Linked DNA regions of Homo sapiens: all the other regions are linked to region 2. The links are contacts of gene promoters, found by promoter capture Hi-C in human tissues and cell types (Jung and others, 2019). All regions are on one chromosome and are shown on one strand. Each heading gives the region's core, a stretch centred on a gene start or on the middle of the fragment in contact. The rest is flanking DNA. Distances are from core to core; before and after follow the strand shown. Region 1 overlaps RAPGEF1 (Rap guanine nucleotide exchange factor 1). Region 2 holds the start of POMT1 (protein O-mannosyltransferase 1). Region 3 overlaps RAPGEF1 (Rap guanine nucleotide exchange factor 1). Region 4 overlaps RAPGEF1 (Rap guanine nucleotide exchange factor 1). Region 5 overlaps RAPGEF1 (Rap guanine nucleotide exchange factor 1). Region 6 overlaps PLPP7 (phospholipid phosphatase 7 (inactive)). Region 7 has its middle 23 kb from the start of FAM78A.

Region 1 (2,700 bases), core at 53-2,552, 170 kb before region 2:
GAGTGAATCTTTGTGGGATTGATGCAGACCAAGACTCGTGTTAAGGCCGAGCTCTGCAGCAGCTGGCCGCTTGTTTGTCTTCTGAGCCTGTTTCATTTGCCTTCCCTGGTCTGCTTGAGCAGAGGAGAGAGGAAGAAAAGCTGTTGGCAGATGTTTTTAGTAAGACCCTTAAGCGTAAGGGAGGAAGCTAATTTTAGTCCTGTTTTTAATATTATGGTAGTTTGGTTGCGTCTTTCCTCTTAGGGTAGAGCATTTTAGCTTTTGTTTTTGCTTTTGCATTTCCTGTGTATATATCCTGAAGCAAAATGGACTGCTAAAAATGTCACTTGGTGTTTGTTATTTTGTGCCTAGAATAACATTCAAGACCCGTGAGCACTGTGAGTCACTAAAATAGTTTTAGGAGAAAGGAATGTTGTCTGTGTTACTCTTTTCTATATTTCCTTCTAGAAATTTTCCAGTTGATTCCTGTGCTTATGTTAATTGGACATCCATAATCTCTTTCTTTTATCATCAGCAATACAGTAACATTGTATTTGTTAGCACATTGCATCTCTACTTGCATGCAGAGCTCTTTAATTTTAAAAGTACAGTAAGTTTTGGAAGAAGATCATGGCTAAAGAGGCAAGTTGCTGGAAAATACAGTTGTGCTGCTTACTCAGTGAACAACCAGCCAACAAGCTGCGTGCACGTTTATTGTGATGAGAACTTAAACACAAAGCAGACGTGTAAGTTCCCCTGGTGTCCCCAGTTCCTAGCACATAGTAGAAACTTTGTAAATATTTGTTTGGGGTAAATGAAGTCAGTAGCACTACAGATAGGAGGCCGTAAGGAAGGATGGTTTCTAAAACAATAAAAAGGGACATCAGCTAGGCCAGTGGTCTTCCAACTTACTGTGTATCAGAATCACCTGGAGAGCTTGTTAAAACAGATTGCTGGGCCTACCCCCAGAGTGTCTGCTTCTGTAGGTGTGGCATGGGCCCAAGAATTTGCATTTCTAAGAAGTCTCTTGGTGAAGCTGCCGTCGTTGTTGGTTCAGGACCACACTTTGAGAACCGCTGACTAGGCTAATGCCTGTGGATGAGAAAAGAGGCTTAGAGAAATTATGTTTTGCCTAATTGACAAAACCAATTAGTGGCTGAAACAACACAGAAGGCCAGGTTTGTCCTCTCACTTCCTAACTTGAGGACAGAGAAATATATTCTGATGTCCCTAACTGGCAGTCTGCTATGATAGTGACCACATGCCCATTTCTTTCTTGGGATTTCGTCCCAGCCTGACAACCTTGGAACAGAACAAGAGGACAGGAGGTGTCGTTCCAGGTATGTGTTAGCTGCACCAGCCACTCTTTGTGGCATCTGCTACCCATCAAAGGACGTGGTTGGGCTGGGAGCCAAGTTAAGTTTTCTCATTGTTTGGCAGTTGTGTCCCCAGATTTTCTTGCCCATCTTGGAGATCTTAGCACAGCCGGGGTGCTTGGGGCTCAGCTGCCTTGAAGGGGACTCAGTCCCCCACACAGGTGATTCCCATGTCCCATGGTGGGCACTGAGATTGGGGTGAGGGGAGCACACTTGAGGGACCCTTCACTTCCTCACAGCCCTTGCCCCTTTCCTCAGGGTGCGCTGGGAAGAACCCCCAGCGGCTGCCCATGCCCACCTCAGAAGCTGTTCAGTTTGGGCAGAAGGAGGTTATTGTGGCCACCTTCTGTCCACGGTTTTCTTTTACATCCTTTCCATTGCACTGTTGGTGCCCACCTCCCCATTCTAAAAGACATGGCCACTGGCTCCACTTAAGGAAGGCACTTTATTGTCATGATTAAGACTGTGAGGCCAGCCTATAATCCCAGCACTTTGAGAGGCCAAGGTGGAAGGATCACTTGAGCCCAGGAGTTCAAGGCTGTAGTGAGCTACGACCATGCCACTACACTCCAGCCTGGGCCACAGGGCGAGATTAAAAAAAAAAAAAAGACTGAGTTTTTGTCAAACTGAGCAGTTCGAGTTCAGGCTGTTTCCCAATCATGCTGTGACTTTGCACCTAGTTCTTTTCTCTGAGCTTTAGTTTCTTCATCTGCAAAATGGCAATTAATGTCTGCCTGTCAGGGCTGGCGTATAGTAAGTGCTCAGTAAATTACAGGCTATCTTTTGAGGAGCAAGAAGTAGACTAGCTCCTGACTAACCCTTGCCTTAAATTCCTCTTCTCTACCTTCATTCCCTGGGGGCTTTCCTGGTACAGGGGCAGGATAATGGTGTGTGCTTACTTTGGATTTTGCCTTGTGGCAATTTGCTGTAAGACATGGTTGGGGAATTCATTTTTATCTAGACATCAGGACCACCAGTACATTGGTAATTCGTCTCTTAGTGGAAGGTGGCTTGTGGGTGTTTGGCTTCTCAGCCTGTTGGGGACCATTTTTAGATTTCTGAATTAATCCTTTCTCATGGCCGGTGAAGAAAAAAACACATGGTGAACCCTGTGGACGGCACGTCCCGGCACCCGCAGGAAGCTGCCGGGCTCCCTGCTCCCGCAGAGCCCTCCTCCACAGCCTCGCCCAGCCCCTGGCTCTTGCCCTCCCTGAGTCAGGTCACCTGTTCAGCTGACCCTGCTGGGCTGGGGCCTTCCAGATGTGCTCATCCCTCTGCTGGGAGCATTTTCCCCTCGGTCCGTGCCTCATCCCCACGAGAAATACAGCGCAAATCCAGCCAAGTG
Region 2 (2,700 bases), core at 50-2,549:
TGTAGAAAAGCGGGCTCAGGCAGACGCCCTAGAAAAGAAGGGAGGAGCCGTGGTCCATGAGGGCTCACGAGAGGCTACAGAAGGGATCCCCAGCCACCCGGCTCCCGGACACACGAGGAGAACCACAGCACAGCCGGGCTGCTGAGAAAGACCGAAGTTCCTGGAGCCTTGGTTCAGGTAGACATGTGGGGTGAGGGGCACTAGCAGTGAACTCGGGTGGGAATTCAGGGGATCTCAGGACTGGACATTCACTCCTTTCAACAACTCATTCCACAAAACCTGCCGAGCACGTCTTGGGCGCGAGAACACTGCTAAGGAACGCCAGGGTTTCTCCCCTCCCTCCCCGACGACCAGAAGCCCACAGTGCGGCCACAGCTACCTGACCCTGGGCAGCTCCTGGGTGCCATCTCAGCTGCTTACAGCCCAGGGACCCCAACCTGGCCGAGCCTCGGGGCCTCCTCATCTCTCCTCAAGGATGCATCTGCCCCCAGTGCCTCCCTGCCTTCTATCCCAGCGGCACATCATCCCCGGGTGCTCCCTTTCTCGCCTGGAGGGTGCATTTGCACCCTGCGCCCCCACGTTCTCCTCCAGGCTTCATCTTCCCTTGAGCTCCGCTTCTCTTGAGGCTGCATCAGGCCTGGGACACCCTGTCTCACACCAAAGCCGCATCTGGCCGTTGGCGCCCCGCTGGTCTCCTCAGGCCCCATCTACCCTGGACGCGCCCTTCCCTCCCTGAGCTGCATCTGCCTTGAGCGCCTTCGTCCCAAAAGGTCCCATCTGTCCTGGGAGTGCCTCCTCTCCCCTTGCAGACCGCATCTCCCTGGCCGGCCCTTCTTCCCCACAGGCCGCACCTGTCCCGTCCACCAACTCCCGAGGCTGCGTCGGCCCCAGCTCCGTCCTCACCCTGAGACTGCACCCGCAGCACGCCCTTCCTCCCTAGGGCTGCACGCGCCACGGAGTTCTTACTTCGGGGCTCGGCCGCCCGAACGCCGCATCTGCCCGGGCCCGAACCCCGCCCCCAGCTCCGGAAAGACGGGGACGCCCCCGGCCCCAGCCCGTCCGCAAGCCAGGGACCCGCGTCCGGCACTGACGGACTCCCCCAAGTCCGGGCTGGGCTCTCGTCCCCGGTGTCCCCAAATGTACCCGCGTTTCTCCGAGTCCACACAGAGCCGCGCCCGGCTCCCGGCAACGCCTCGGAACCGTCCGACTGGGCCGACGGTTGGGGGTGAGGCCGCTCGGCACTCCGCACCACCCACCGCCCTGCTCAACGTTCGATTCACCGAGCCTGCGGGGCCAGACGGGCAGCAGCGCGCGTGCGCACTGGGAGAGGGTGACGCGCGTGCGCAGCGGGCGAGGGCGCCGGTCCCGGAGGAGAGGCAGGTGTGAAACGCGGCGACCTCCCCTCTCTCGGGTGCTACTGTTTTGTGTGCCAGGATTTCTGTGTACTCTAAGCAGACGTGCAGATTTTAAAAAGCGCAGTGGGCTCCCACCCATCTTCTGCTCCTTGCTTTTTCACTCCATCTGGCGTGAAGATCTTAATTCTGCGTCTGCACAACGGCGTTCTGCCGGGCGCGCCAGTTTGCTCCTAGTTTTTTTCTTTTCTTTTCTTTTCTTTTTTTTTGAGACGGAGTTTCGCTCTTGTTGCCCAGGCTGGAGTGCAATGGCGCGATCTCGGCTCACCGCAACCTCCGCTTCCCGGGTTCAAGCGATTCTCCTGCCTCAGCCTCCCGAGTAGCTGAGATTGAAGGCGCACGCCACCACGCCCGGTTAATTTTTGTATTTGTAGTAGAGACAGGGTTTCACCATGTTGGCCAGGCTGGTCTCGAACTCCTGACCTGAAGTGATCCGCCCACCTCGGCCTCCCAAAGTGCTGGGATTACAGGCGTGAGCCACTGCGTCCGACCTTAATTTTTTTTTTAAGACACGGGGTCTCGCTCTGTCGCCCAGGCTGGAGTACAGTGGCAGGACCACGGCTTGCTGCAGCCTCGACCTCTCTGCCCGAAGCGATCCTCCCTCCTCGGCCTCCAGAGCAGCTGAGACCACAGGCACGTGCCCCCACGCCCGCGGGCGCTCCTAGTTTCCTTGCCGAAAAACATCGATGCCACGATCCTGCTTGCACATACATCTAGCGGTGAAGTGGCTGAGGGTAAGGGCATTTAAAACGGACCTAGGGCCGGGGGCGGTGGCTCACGCCTGTAACCCCAGCACTTTGGGTGGCCGAGGTGGGAGGATCCGTGAGCCCGCTTGAGTCCAGGAGAGCCTGGGCAACACAGCGAGACCCCGTCTCTACAAAAAAATACAAAAATTAGCGGGGCCCCTTGGCGTCTGCCTGCAGTCCCAGCTACAAGGGAGGCTGAGGCAGGAGATCACTTGGGGCAGAGAGGTCGAGGCTGCAGTGAGCCTTGGTCTCACCACTGCACTCCAGCCTGGACTACAAAGTGAGACCGTCTCAAAACAAAAAACAAAACCAAAAAAACCTGGACATCAGTGGGGGCTGCATGACCATCAGAGGCTCCAGTGGGGGCATCTCCCCTAAACTCCGTGGCAGAAGACTGGAGGCTTCTTCCTCCATTCCCAGGGCTCCTCCTCATCCATCAGCCTCTCCAGCCCCCTCTGCTGAGGGTCAAGAGCCTTCCCAAAGGCCTGCTTTGGAGCAGACATGGTACTTTTGGTTGGGTCAATGCACCCCTTCCCATGTTT
Region 3 (2,700 bases), core at 61-2,560, 200 kb before region 2:
TGGCATTCAGTAACATAGTGGTCACTGGAGACCTTGACAAGAGGTGTCAGTGGGGCCAGGCGCAGTGCCTCATGCCTGTAATCCCAGCACTTTGGGAGGCCGAGGCGGGCGGATCACCTAAGGTCGGGAGTTTGAGACCAGCTTGACCAACATGGAGAAACCCTGTCTTTAGTAAAAATACAAAATTAGCCAGGCATGGTGGCACATGCCTGTAATCCCTGCTATTCAGGAGGCTGAGGCAGGAGAATCACTTGAACCTGGGAAGCAGAGGTTGCAGTGAGCCAAGATCACGCCATTGCACTCCAGCCTGGGCAACAAGAGCAAAACTGCACCTCAGAAAAAAAAAAAAAAAAAAAAGTGTCAGTGGAGTGTTGGGTGTGAAAGTGTCAAAGAATGAGCAGAGGAGAATTGGCCACAGGGAGCATGGGCGTTCTTGGAGTTTTGCTGAAAGCGGGAGTGAAGACACAAGGTGGTAGTTGTTAAGGGTATTGCGGTCAAGGGAAAGTTTTTTCATAAAGGGTGAAATAATGGCAAGGTTGAATGCTGATGGGAATGACCTGGTAGAGATGGAAACATCGCTCAAGACCAGGAGAATTGCCGGACGAGAGAGAAGTCCTGATTATCAGCTGTGGTGCATTGAGTATTTACAGTCCTTGCTGACAAATCACCCCGCTATTTAGGGAGCTTAAATAACAACTGGGCACCTAGTTTACACTTCTGCAGCTGGCAGTTCAGGCTGGGCTGCTGGGCTCCTGGTCTTGCCTAGGGTTCCTCAAGTGTCTACAATCAGCTGCTGGGAGGGCTTATCCCTGGGCCTCCAGCAGGCTAGCCCAGGGTCCCTCCCGTAGTGGGGTTGCTCACCTGGTCGGGGAAGGGGGGCAGCCCTGAGGCCCCAGGTCAGAAGCCGCACAGTTACCTCTACTTTATTTCATTGGCTAAAGCAGGCCACAGGCCAGCCCAGATTCAAGGGGAAGGGAGAGAGAGACCTGCCCCCTCCTTCTACCCGCCCTTCTAACAGGAGAGTGCAAAGTCATCTTGCCAAGCTGTGGGTATGAGGAGCAGGGAATCGTTTGGCCATTACTGCAAACAATTTGTCACAGCTGTCTGTGAGCTAAGCATGTTGCTTTCAATCATCACAAGAGTTCTTTGGGGTAGGTAGTATGATTGTGATTTTACAGATGAGAAAACCAGGTCACTGAGCATCCAGTAACTTGCTCAAGATCATGCAGCTAGTAAGTGGCAGAATTGGGACCTAAACTGGTCTCTGACGTCAAAGCCCCTTTCTTCCCTATTTTCCCTTCCTGCAAGTGTCTGTTTACAAGGGCAGACTAGAGGGCCCCTCCTCCCTTTGCTTGTTAGGCATGGGAATAATATTTTTGTGGATGATGATTATCTCATAATCAGGGTGGACTGAGGGAGGTGATCATCTTGTTGTGGCTTGCATGTTTACTGTGCGGGGATTGGACAGCTGTATTTATGAGAATCCCTTTGAGGTCACAGTGGTGTGTTATTGACACAGATTCATGTCTCTGCTCTCAGCTGGTCCCTCAGTGCCCTTTGACAGTCTTTGCCCTTGTCCTTGGTCAGCTGACTCTCCTGTCCAGATAGTCACACATGTTCCCCTTCACGCCCCACTTTGTTCCAGGCCTCTGACTTCCTCTGTCTGCCTTTATCCTGGCCCCTCTCTTTCTGGCCCTGACACAGGTACACTCAGCCTCTAGTCCAGGTTCCCTCTGCCCAGGTCCTCTTCCCTCCAGAACTTGTCATCATCAACTGTCTTTTCAACCAACTGGACTTCAAGCTTTCCAAGAGCAGAATCCAAAATGTGGGAAAATTTGAATTAGCATCAGTGAACTTTGTCTCTGACACTGGCTGTATAGTCTTGAGCAAGTCCTGTACCCTCAGGTGCAAGAATCTGGGAAGAGTGGACACTTTGAGCCATCTCCAAGGCCATTCAGGGAGAGTGAGATCTCTTTATGTCCGCCTAGGAAACCCGTGGCCTAGAGCTCAGTTCTGTTCTGTTGCAGTGGCTGCAGTGTGTCCTGGGTGTATACCTGACAGCCCTGCATTTTGCTGCAAGAGCTGCAGCCTTCTCTCTGCCCTCTCCTAATTCAAGCGTCAAAACCTTGTTGGCCCCAGAGCTAGAGCCGCTGCAAGCCACTTCGCTCATTTAGGAAAGCAGGAGGCAGGTCCTGTGCTGAGTCTGCAATCTCAGCAAAGACCTCAGTGAAAATGTTTTCAAGCTCTCTTTGGATAGAGGGAGCAGAGCAGTGAGTAATTAGGTTCAATCACCCATTTCAAGTCTCTGTGACCTTGCTTACATAGGGAGCCCGGAGCTGGGCCCTTCTTGGAGTCCCTGGGTTGGGATCCCAGCCAGCTGAGTGTGAGGAAGGGAGGGAGCGAGAAGGGATGGAGGAGAAGCCTGGGCCAGCAGAGGGCTGCTGTCTCTGCTGCGCTTTCAGCAAGCTCATCTCAGGCATGACATTCAGGATGCAGAGTTGCTCTTTATTTTTTTATGTAGTTTGCTAAGAGAAAATAGCCCCGCTACTTATGTATCAGTGTAATCCAGGGGAAATTACTTAATTTCCGTCAGCCTCAATTTGCTCATCTGTAAAATGAAGGCAACTAATTACACCTGCCTTAGCATATGAGGCGTGAATACGAGAATGCTTGACAATACTTGGCATAGAGTTAGCCCTC
Region 4 (2,700 bases), core at 157-2,656, 210 kb before region 2:
CAGTCCCTCGGTAAACCCCTGCGATTTACTCCAATAAATCCTGACTGGTCCTTCTTAGTACCTCCTCTGCTGACCCCTTACTCCAGGCCACCGCCGTTTCTCCCTGGACTGCCCCATGCCTTCCTAACCGGCTTCTTGGTTTCTTCTCCCAACTCACAGCCATTCATTCTGCATTTCACAGCCAGAGTGTGAACTGGATCACATGGATCCTCTTTATGATTGCCTGGGGCTTCCCCACACATGTGAAGCGATCCGAGGTCCTCGACGTGGCCTGTGTGCGCCCTGGACTCTGGCCCTTAACTCACTCCCTGACACCCCTCTCCCCGTCACTGTGTCCCAGCCACACTGGCTTTTGTGCTCTTCTTCCAGGTGTTCCTTTCCCTCAGAGCCTTTGCACTTGCCGTTCTCTTACTGGAACATTCATTCCCCAGATATTGTAGGGCACCTGCTGAGAAGCCATGGACAAGAGCCACGGTTTAAAGGCTGCTGGTGCCACCGTTTGCTGATCATGTGATCTTGGGAAAAGTTGCTCACCCATCTCCTTTTAAAAATCAGTTTCTCATTGATAAGATGGATCCTGCGGTAGGGTTTTGGTGAGTTCATGCTGGGGAGTACTCGATTGGAAGAACTGGGCAAACATGAGTTCCTCTTCCTGTGTCCTTTGCTCCCTATCCCTAGCTGCCTCACATCTTTGTTCAGATGCCACCCAGAGAGGTCAGCCCTAACCACTGGGCCCAGAATAACAGATAGGGTGCGCATCACTTTCTGTCCCTCATCCCCCGCTCTTTTTCCCCCTTTAAATGTAGCCTTTTTTTTTTTTTTTTGAGACAGTCTCACTCTGTTGCACAGGCTGGAGTGCAGTGGTGCAGTCTTGGCTCACTGCAACCTCTTGGGTTCAAGCGATTCTCCTGCCTCAGCCTCCCCGGTAGCTGGGATTACAGGCATGCACCACCATGCCTCGCTAATATCTTGTGTTTTTAATAGAGACAGGGACCATGTTGCCAAGACTGATCTTGAACTCCTGAGCTCAGGCAATCTGCCTGCCTTGGCCTCCCAGAGTGCTAGGATTACAGGTGTGAGCCACCGCGCCTGGCCTATTTGCTTCTTTTTTATGATATTTTCCCTCATTGGGAGGTAAGCTCCCTGTCGGCTGCTATTTCACCAGAGCCCAGAATGGTGCCTGGCACATAGCTGACGCTCACTAATTTTTGTTCAGTGGATAGTGAGTACCCATTGTGTATGGACTCCACACCTCTTAAGGGAGACAGGTGCATTTTTACAAGCTTGAGGAGCACAGCCAGAGTGCAGGCTGTGACCGTGTTCATCCTCATGCAGCTCAGTGCAGAGGGCCATCAGCAGTGAGTGGCTCTGTCAAGTTTATCTGGAGGCGGGGAGTTGTAAAGGGCAGAGGCATCACAGCCTGGAGGCTGAGGTCAGCGGGCTGGCCAGGAGAGGGGCTGGAGTCTTCCCCAGTGCGGGCATTACCCCTTCCAATACTGCCATGGTCCAAGTGAAGCAGAGGCTGTGGGACCCGAGGCTGTGGGACCCTCAACACTGATCTTTGAGAGTCCACTGGATGTTGGCTGTGAGGTTTCCTTTGACTCGCTGGAGAGGAGGGACAGGAGCTACAGTGCAGGCAGGCAGGTGCACGGCTATGCACAGTGTCCAGTCGCCGTGTGAGGAAGTGGGAGATGAAGGTGGGAAAGGTAATTTGGGGCCAGACTCCAAAAGGCCTTGAATGCCAATCCACGTACTTAGGACTTCTACCTTTAGTATTACAGGAAGCATCGAGGGGTTTTTATTATTTTATTTTTTTGAGACAGGGTCTGCCTCTGTCACCCGGGCTGGAGTGCAATGGCGCGATCTTGGCTCACTGCAACCTCTGCCTCGCAGGCTCAAGCCATTCTCTCACCTCAGCCCCCCGAGTAGCTGTGACTACAGACACACATAACACAATGCTTAGCTAATTATGTTTTTCCTTTTTTTGTAGAGACAGGGTTTTGCCATGTTGCCCAGGCAGGTCTCAAACGCCTGGGCTCAAGTAATCAACCTACCTCTGCCTCCCAAAGTGCTGGGATTACAGGCATGAGCCATAGTGCCTGGCCACATCAGGGGTTTAAGAAGCATTCTCCTTACATATTTAGACTTTCCACCAAGTCTTCCAAATTTCTCCCTTTCCCATACTGAGGGCTACGTTTAGTTCCTGGCCAAGTCCTGACTTTGTAAAGAACAACAAGTAAACAGCTTCTTCAGAAGGCTGGATGCTGAGCCCTGATTGCCCTTCAGTGAACCAGCCTCATCCATGAAGCTTCTTGAAAAGCCAGAAACTGTATCATTGGGGGGGTCCTTGAAATCTGAAGCAAGGGACAGGTTCTGAGCCCCTGTGTTTTGCAGATTAGGTTGCACAAGAAAGATGGGCTGGTGACTTTGCAGTTCATTTCCGTAGATTGTCCTTCTAGGCCTGCCTGGATAGAAGCAGCCTCGTGTGGGATCCAGCAGCAGTGGCCAGTGGGATGGGAGCCAGCATATGTAGTTGTTGACACATCCCCTGCAGACGTGGGTCGGCGGGCTAGCTGTGGGAGAGCACTGCAATGGGAGTCAGTGACTTGGGGCCTCTAGCCTCCTGTGAAAGGTCTTTTTTCTCTGGACCTCAGTTTCTCCATTTTATTGTAATGAGTTGGGCTAGATCAGTAGTTCTTA
Region 5 (2,700 bases), core at 74-2,573, 140 kb before region 2:
CAGACTGATTCCACATTAGCAGTCTCTTGCATCTTCTTAGTGAATTTAAAAATTCAAAGTACATTGTGATGAACTTCTAAACTTTTTTGCAACCTTTTAACAAGTCTAGCAGTGAGCTGCAGAGTGTTGAAGTTGTAGAGGAAATTTAGCCATATACTGGGTGTCCAAAGGTATAATTACAATGAGCAGTGAGCAGGGGGTCCTGGGAGGTGTTAATGCCCCATCTCTGAGGGCATTTGGACAGAGATTGGATCCGAGTGCTCTTGGGTGGATTCCTGAAAGCCTTTCCCCTTCAGCTCTTCCAGGGAGATGCTGCTGCCGGACAGCCTGGTGGCAGGTGGTGATTTGGTGCTCTCATTGTAACCAATGTCTGTGTTCGACATGTCTTCTTGCTAGGCCTCACTGTTCTGGACTAATAGGAATAATGTTGCATTGCCATTTTTTTTTTAATCCTGCAATTCTAGTTTTTTATTATACTGATTGTGACTTGCCCTCCCCCTCACTCCCTGGCTTTACCCACATTTTCAGGGTACACTGTCCTATAGTGTGGAAATGAGGCTTATGTTGCTGTGGAGAGGGGAGGCACCCAGGCTGCAGATGGGACAAGGAGTGACAGAGCAAGTCGGGTGTCCCGGCTGCGGCACGGCTGTGGGGAGAGAACTGTCTGGAGAGGAGGGCCAGTTTTCCTCACCCTCTTCCCCGCCATCTCCTGTGGCAGCACATGGCTGTGGAGCCACAGCCTGGGCGTCAGAAATGAATATGGCCCACGGGGCAGGAAAGGCGATGGGGATTTTATGTCCATCTCTGCCATCGGGGTCTTAGTTTACTCGTTTGTTAAATGAGATCTTTTTGACCAGGGGATCTCAAGTAAACTTTTTAACTTCAGCACATTTCTGATCTGGTCTTTATTCTCCTCTCTATCTCTCCAGGCTCTGAACTCAGACAGACCAAGTTCAAATTCCATATCTGTCACTACAGCTGTGTGGCCTTAGGCAAGTTGCTTAACCTCCCCCACGTCCCACTAAGCCTCAGTTTCCCCACCTGTGAAATAATAGTATCCACTTCACAGGGTGGTTGTAACCTTTAAACAAAATAGCCTATATAAAATCCATAGCACAGTGGGTGCCTCCATGTCCCCGATGAGTGGTAGCTACGATCTGGCCTCTTTCTTCCCTTTCAGATGTTCCCATCCTAGGCCCTCTTTCTCTGCTTTATTACTGGCAGGTATATGGTCTCTGGTGTTGGTATAGTGCCTGTTAAATGTTGTGAACCACTTCATATGCTTTCTCATTCAGTCCCCCACAGTCACCTCTTTAGTTACACGGGGCAGATGTTATTCTCCCCATTTTGTGGGTGACAAGCCCAAAGCCCAGCAGTTGGCTTTGTCTCTAAGCCATCCCCAGACACGGACAGCCTCATTTAGTTTCCAGGCTTATGTGGACCAATGATGGCAATCCATCCCCCACAGCAGGAGGGGTGCGCAGGTGAACGCACCTGCCCTCGGGTTATGCAGCGAGGCAGCTTCAGCAAAGCCAAGGCATGGAGTCCCCAGTCCGAGCCAGTGCTGGATGTGGCTGTGTGGCTGTGAACTCTCACTGCTGGCTGCATTCACAAGGATCCCCAGCTTGACAGCTGAAAGGCTGGAGAATGCACAACACCCAGAGGCCATTAATTCTGGGAGTAGAATCTGAGTTCACGGAGGCAGCCTGGCTGTGCTACATTGTTGGCTCCTTTAGGAGGAGCCCAGGACAGCCTGACTCTTAAACAGCTGATTTGATCTCTCTGCAATGACAGAAAAACTCTCTGCTCTGAAGTGCCTTGCCACTTTCGAGTGCCTCCCATCTTCAGATTAGCCACTTTCTCCCTGTGTGACCTGATGACACATTTTCTTAAAATGTTTCCTGTTCCTCAGCAAGTTTCATCATTGCTGGTCTCTAACACTTTCTGATGTGCTAAGGTGGCAGTGTTACTGTCATAGTCCTCTTCTTGCCTGGTTGACCATGGCTTTAGGCACATCTGAGGTCTGTCGGCACTGCGACTCCTTCACACTCAGGTTCCTCCCTGCCCCGGGCAGATGACATGAAGCAGAGAGCTCTTGTCCACGAGGTGGAAAAGTAAGCGCCCAGCCTCTTGGAAACAGACCGTAAACAAATCTGTCAGGTAGTGAAAAGAGAAAAATAAAGCCAGGGTGCAGGACCCAGGGATGGGGATGAGGAAGGGCACTTCCCCCACCATGGGAGAATTGTGTCTTCTAGTCTGCAGGACACCTTGTGGGAAAGACTCAATGAAAGAAATGACTGGGTCTTTTGTGCATTGTCTGACTAAAGTAGCCATTTATATATTTTTCTTTTGACATTCCCATGAAATAAAAGCCTCTACTATTGAACATTTTTATATTTAAAATGATATTCTGCACCTTTTTTTAAACTTTATTTTTTTAATTGAGACGGTGTGTCACTATGTTGCCCAGGCTGGTCCTGACTCCTGGGCTGAAGTGATCTGCCCACCTTGGCCTCCCAAAGTGCTGGGATTATAGGTGTGAGCCACTTCACCTGGCCAATCGGCACTATTTTAGAAGAAAAGAGCTAGTATTCAGAATCATAAGCACTTTTTATTAATTTCTACCATTTGTTTGTCTGTATATTGTTTAAATCACCTTTTTCTAGAAATTATCTTCTTGCCCTCAGTTTTTATTTATAT
Region 6 (2,700 bases), core at 74-2,573, 200 kb after region 2:
GTCACATGAAATGCACATCCAAAACGGGTGACTTGGAAACGACCTATTAGGTCACACGGAGTCCGGCCCCTGGGGGCCAAAGCCTCATCGATGCCCACGGGCGGTGGCCAGCACTTTCCTCGGGCTGTGGCGTGTGCACCCGGCCTCCCCAGAGGAGAGTCAGCTCACACCCCAGGCCCTTTAGCTCTCTGGCAGCAGCTCCCAAAACGCACTTGAGGAACCAATAATTCCTTGGGGGTTAATAGCTGTTCCCCAAGAAAAGGGTTCTGTGGTCAAATAAGTTTAGAAAACATGGGTTAAAGAAGGTTTAGCAAGAAGCTTTTCTATAGGGCTTGTCAGAGCCTTTACGGCAATAACGGCCTTTGTGAATGTCCAACTTGGGGACAGAGTGTGCAGCACTTCCGAAAGTTATTGAACCACAAAACCCCTTTCCCCCAAAAGCATCTCGCAGGCTGGTGTCCCATGGGCACCCGTTGGAAAGTGCTGCCCTAAGCTGTCGATGACCGCTAATGGCAATGGCACCTGCATCAGGCAGTAGGTTGGGGGCATTTTGGCAGGCGTCGTGCTGTGGCGTGATGGGCACAGCCAAGAACTCAACAGTCATGATGATGAAAGGACAAGACAAGACTCGGCCCCTCCCACCATCCTGATTTTTGCTGTTCCCAGAGCAGAAGCTAAATAGGGCTGTCCCCATGGGTGGGTCCTGGCTGCCTAGAGAGGAGACTTGGAGTCCAAGCAAAGGGGCAAGAGGCCTGGCACTGCCAAACACGCTTGTCTCCGGGAGGGGTGGCCTGGGTTCGCCAGCCTCCAGCCAGGAGGGGAAGATGAGGTGGGGGTGGCCGCTCTGACTCCTGGCCGCTCTGTTCCACCCACGCCCGCCACCTCGCCACCCCCTGCCCCTTCTCTAGGGCCAGCCCTGCCCCCAGAGGCTTGTGTGGGCCGGCGGGCGCTTCACCAGGCAGAGATGAGCATCTGGCAGGTGCTGGAGGGCATCCAGACCAGCTCCACCAGACGGAACTGGAGGTAGCCGATGACAAAGCCGGAGAGGACGTCCGTGACGTGGTGGCGGCCGATCATCACGCGGGACAGGCCCACGCAGAGGGCCCAGAGCACCAGCAGCACACGCAGGGGCACCGCCAGCACCAGGTGGCTGAGGAAGAACTTGGACACCATGGCGGCGCGGCTGGCGTGCCCGGCCGGGAAGGCGTAGATGTCCATGGTGAGGTAGTCCAGGAGGCTGGGGCTCGTCTCGTACGGGCCGCGCCGCTTGATGAGCTTCTGCACGCCGGCCACCGTCATGATGTCCAGGAGCAGGGCTGTTGGGGGGAGACAGAGGCCCCTGGGCCATCAGGGCCACCAGCCAGGCCCAGGCCCTGGCCCCCCACATTTCCACCTCGCCTCCCCTTTCTGCTCCTCACTCAGGCCACTCAGCCACACTGACCCCCAGGCAGGGTCCCCTCTCAGGCTGTTGCCTTTGCTGTCTCCCCTGCCCGGCACATCCTGCCTTCCTGTAGCTACTTCCTTTAGCGGAGAAGCCTTCCCTGACCACGCTGTTTGTAAAAAGCCCCCACCACGCTGTCTCCCCTCACCTTGTTTAATTTTTTCATACAGCTTTTCTCATGCCCTGACATAATACGCATTTTATTTCTTTGGGTTTTTTTTTTTTTTTTTTTTTTTTTTTTTTTTTGAGACAGAGTTTCACTTTGTCAACCAGGCTGGAGTGCAGAGGTGAGATCTTGGCTCACTGGAACCTCCGCCTCCCGGATTCAAGCGATTCTCCTGCCTCGGCCTCCTGAGTAGCTGGGATTACAGGCACCCACCACCACGTCCAGCTAATTTTTGTACTTTCAGTAGAGATGGGGCTTTGCCATGTTGGACAGACTGGTCTCAAACTCCTGACCTCAGGTGATCCACCCGCCTCAGCCTCCCATTGTGCTGGGATTACAGGTATGAGCCACTGCGCCCGGCCCTTTTTCCTTTTTTTTTTTTTTTTGATACAGGGTCTTGCTCTATTGCCCAGGCTGTAGTGCAGTGGCCTGATCTTGGCTCACTGCAACCTCCACCTCCTGGGTTCAAGGAATTCTCATACTTCAGCCTCCCGAGTAGCTGGGATTACAGGTGCACACTACCATGCTTGGCTAATTTTTTGTATTTTTGGTAGAGATGGGGTTTTGCCATGTTGGCCAGGCTGGTCTCCAACTCCTGGCCTCAGGTGACCTGCCCGCCTCAGCCTCCCCAAGTGTTCACCCATTACAGGCGTGAGCCACTGTGCCCAGCCCCATTCCCATTTTTCAAAAATTGAAGCAAAATTTACATCTTGTACAGTGAACCATTTTAGAGTGCACGCTTCAGCGGCATTCAGCACATCACAATGTCAGCAGCCACCTCCTCTCTCTAATTTCAAAACATTTCATCATCCCAAAAGAATGCCCCATACCCACGAAGCAGCCACTCCCCATCCCCTTCTCTCCAGCCCCTGGGACACCACCAATCTGCTTTCCTCTAGAGGATTTGCCTCCTCTAGACACTCCATGTAAATGGAATCAGACAGCATGTGGCCTTTTGTGTCTGCCTTCCTTTCCTTAGCATAATGTTTCCAGCATCCACCCATGTGGCAGCGCTTCATTCCTTTTCATGGCCGAATAATATTCCACTGTATGGATGGACCACTATTTGTTCATCTTCTCTTTCTTTTTTTTT
Region 7 (2,700 bases), core at 62-2,561, 250 kb after region 2:
CTGACCTCAGTGATCTGCCCGCCTCGGCCTCCCAAAGTGCTGGGATTACAGGCTTGAGCCACTGCGCCCGGCCGATGGAAACTACTAAATGCAAGCGAACACGTCGGAGTGAATGAACTCCATCTCTGTGCCTGTGTGCAGGGAGGTGAACCCGAAATCAACATGGGAACTGGCGAAGGCCAGCCCAGCTCCCTTCAGGCCCAGACGGCACGACTTGGAATGCAGAGGCAGGATTAGTTCCTGTATCAGCCTGAGCCCTGGTTCTTATTTCATGTTCCCTTTTCAATCAGACAGAAGAAGGGTGGGTGTTTACGGCGGGCCAGACACAGCTGGGAGCCCTGCACTATTCCTGGCTGCCACTTGCCTTGCTGAGTGAGGCCAGGCTTGTCGCTCAACCTCACATGCCTGAGTTTCCTAATCGTCAGGCCAGAGACACGCACACTTACCCTGTCCTCCCCGGTCCGGGGCCCAGCAAAGGCATAGCAGTTGTGCTCCGTGTTAAACATGCAAATGGAGCCCCCAGAATAATCACACTGAGCACCAGGGCTTAGCTCAGAGACCAGGGACTCTTCTCTCTAAATACGGCTCAATTCTTCTGCAACATCTAGACCACAGGGGCCTGGCTTAGTGATGTGGGATTCTCAGCATCCATGACAAATGCAGACTGAATGCTGGTCAGACAGTCACACAAACGTATTAAAATGCTTTACCTCAGCTTTATTGGGATACAGTTCACATACCACACAACTCACCTATTTAAAGTACGGTTCTGGCTGGGTGTGGTGGCTCCTGCCTGTAATCCCAGCACTTTGGGAGGCCAAGGCGGGCAGATCACCTGAAGTCAGGAGTTCAAGACCAGCCTGGTCAACATGGCGAACTCCTGTCTCTACTGAAAAAAATACAAAAATTAGCAGGGCATGGTGGCACACGCCTGTAATCCCAGTTACTCAGGAGGCTGAGGCAGGTGAATCACTTGAACCTGAGAGGTAGAGGTTACAGTGAGATTGCACCACTGCACTCCAGCCTGGGTGACAAAGACTCCATTTAAAAAAAAAAAAAAAAGTGTACGGTTCTGGCCGGTGCAGTGGCTCCTGCCTGTAATCCCAGCACTCTGGGAGACCGAAGTGGGAGGATCTTGGGCTCAGGAGTTTGAGACCAGCCTGGGCAACATAGTGAGACCCCATCTCTACAAAAAAACTTAAAAATTAGCCAGGCATAGGCCAGACTCAGTGGCTCATGCCTGTAATCCCAGCACTCTGGGAGGCTGAGGCAGGTGGATCACAAGGTCAGGAGTTCAAGACCAGCTTGGCCAAGAGGGAGAAACCCTGTCTCTACTAAAAATACAAAAATTAGCTGAGTGTGATGGCGGGCGCCTGTAACCCCAGCTACTCGGGAGGCTGAGTCAGAGAATTGCTTGAACCCGGGAGGCAGAGGTTGCAGTGAGCCGAGATTGTGCCACTGCACTCCAGCCTGGGTGACAGAGTGAGACTCCATCTCAAAAAGCTAACAACAACAACAAAAATTAGCTGGGCGCGGTGGCACATTCTCGTCATCCCAGCTACTCAGGAGAATGAGGTGGGAGGTCGAGGCTGCAGCGAGCCCTGATCGTGCCACCGCACTCCAGCTGGGCGACAGTGAGTCCCTGTCTCACAAAATAAAAGCAAATAGAAAGTGTACGGTTCTATGGTTTTAGTATATTCACAGATACGTACAATCACCTTGGCCCAGTTGGGCTCTAGAATAAAGTAACCATAGACCGGATGCCTCGTCAACCACAGAAACCAATCCTTCACAGTTCTGGAGGCTGGAAGTCCAAGATGAAGGCGCCCACAGTTTCTGCGTGGTGAGGGCCACCTCCTGGTTCACAGAAGCGCCTCCTCGCTGTGCGGTCATGTGACGGAGGCCGGAAGGCAGGTCCCACAGCCTCTGGGGAAGGAGAGCCCAGAGTAGCTGAGGAACTGGGGTGCCCACACCAGCCTGCTGGGGGCTTCAAATGTTCTTTTAGGAGTGACAAGGGAATCGACCTGCCCAGCTCTGCAGCCCTGGGGGCCACAGAGGACCGGGGCACAGCCGGCGCCTCTGCTCAGGGCTCCGGCCTCCATCTCTGGGAGCGAGCACCCGTGGATGCCTCACTCCACCCAGGGTCACTGTCGCGCAGCAGCAGCTTTCCAGAAGGCAGCCGGCCATTGACGAGTGACCAGGCGGAGACGGTGAAGGCCAGAAGTTCCTCCAGAGGCCGCGTGCCAGCCCCTCGCCTGTGAGGGGGGCCTGGGTCTCCGGGCTCCCCAGGACGGTGCTTCCTCTTGCAGCTGGGCCTGGAGGCCGGAGAGGGTCATGTGAGCCCTCCTGGGCGGGCGGTGCCTCTACGGCTGTGACCTTGAGCAAGTCCCCCTCCTCTCAGGTCTCGGTTTCCTAGGACATGGAGTGGGGACGGAGGTGGTTCCTCACCTCACGAGATTGCGGAGGCACGTGAAGCCGATGGTCCTGAGCTTCTGGACAAGTGCCCAGCCCAGAGTAAGCGCTTAGCAAATCCGAGTGATTCGGCGGCACCACTGAGCCTCGGTTTCCTCATCTGCAAGACAGGGTTACGCTTTCCTCACAGGGAGGAGGGTTCCGGGGGGTCATCAGGCAAGGCCCTCAGCACAGAACCGCCAATAGCTAACACCTATTATTGACCTTGTTGTAACAGGATGATAAAAT

What was found. Contacts are between HindIII fragments. The study calls those that stand out against the background at their distance.
Region 1: a fragment that was not itself captured here is called in contact with the fragment with the promoter of POMT1 in region 2 in 3 of the 25 tissues and cell types used here (dorsolateral prefrontal cortex, mesenchymal stem cells and spleen).
Region 3: a contact is called between a fragment that was not itself captured here and the fragment with the promoter of POMT1 in region 2, in 4 of the 25 tissues and cell types used here (dorsolateral prefrontal cortex, ovary, pancreas and 1 more).
Region 4: a contact is called between a fragment that was not itself captured here and the fragment with the promoter of POMT1 in region 2, in 3 of the 25 tissues and cell types used here (lymphoblastoid cells, mesenchymal stem cells and spleen).
Region 5: a fragment that was not itself captured here is called in contact with the fragment with the promoter of POMT1 in region 2 in 3 of the 25 tissues and cell types used here (H1 embryonic stem cells, mesenchymal stem cells and spleen).
Region 6: a contact is called between a fragment that was not itself captured here and the fragment with the promoter of POMT1 in region 2, in 1 of the 25 tissues and cell types used here (mesenchymal stem cells).
Region 7: a fragment that was not itself captured here is called in contact with the fragment with the promoter of POMT1 in region 2 in 1 of the 25 tissues and cell types used here (spleen).

The regions. Positions count from the first base shown.
Region 1 is chr9:131,675,176-131,677,875 of GRCh38, reverse strand. The region is part of intron 1 of RAPGEF1 (Rap guanine nucleotide exchange factor 1); the gene reads left to right. Among named protein-coding and RNA genes, the nearest start is that of RAPGEF1, 64 kb to the left of the region's middle. The HindIII fragment of the contact is 6,669 bases long and covers 1-2,700 here.
Region 2 is chr9:131,501,517-131,504,216 of GRCh38, reverse strand. POMT1 (protein O-mannosyltransferase 1) reads right to left here and starts at 1,299. Exons shown (of 20, transcript NM_001077365.2): 1 at 1,144-1,299; 2 at 1-28. RefSeq lists enhancers at 349-408, 1-645, 646-1,513 and silencers at 979-1,128, 1,199-1,398. The HindIII fragment of the contact is 15,044 bases long and covers 1-2,700 here.
Region 3 is chr9:131,696,897-131,699,596 of GRCh38, reverse strand. The region is part of intron 1 of RAPGEF1 (Rap guanine nucleotide exchange factor 1); the gene reads left to right. Among named protein-coding and RNA genes, the nearest start is that of RAPGEF1, 42 kb to the left of the region's middle. The HindIII fragment of the contact is 5,701 bases long and covers 1-2,700 here.
Region 4 is chr9:131,715,889-131,718,588 of GRCh38, reverse strand. The region is part of intron 1 of RAPGEF1 (Rap guanine nucleotide exchange factor 1); the gene reads left to right. Among named protein-coding and RNA genes, the nearest start is that of RAPGEF1, 23 kb to the left of the region's middle. The HindIII fragment of the contact is 3,620 bases long and covers 1-2,700 here.
Region 5 is chr9:131,644,541-131,647,240 of GRCh38, reverse strand. All of the region lies in intron 3 of RAPGEF1 (Rap guanine nucleotide exchange factor 1), which reads left to right. Among named protein-coding and RNA genes, the nearest start is that of RAPGEF1, 94 kb to the left of the region's middle. The HindIII fragment of the contact is 5,406 bases long and covers 1-2,700 here.
Region 6 is chr9:131,306,539-131,309,238 of GRCh38, reverse strand. PLPP7 (phospholipid phosphatase 7 (inactive)) reads right to left here. Exons shown (of 2, transcript NM_032728.4): 2 at 1-1,316. The coding sequence ends at 952. Among named protein-coding and RNA genes, the nearest start is that of PLPP7, 18 kb to the right of the region's middle. The HindIII fragment of the contact is 3,885 bases long and covers 1-2,700 here.
Region 7 is chr9:131,251,921-131,254,620 of GRCh38, reverse strand. No RefSeq gene overlaps it. Among named protein-coding and RNA genes, the nearest start is that of FAM78A, 23 kb to the left of the region's middle. RefSeq lists enhancers at 238-739, 1,935-1,984 and a silencer at 1,691-2,007. The HindIII fragment of the contact is 9,598 bases long and covers 1-2,700 here.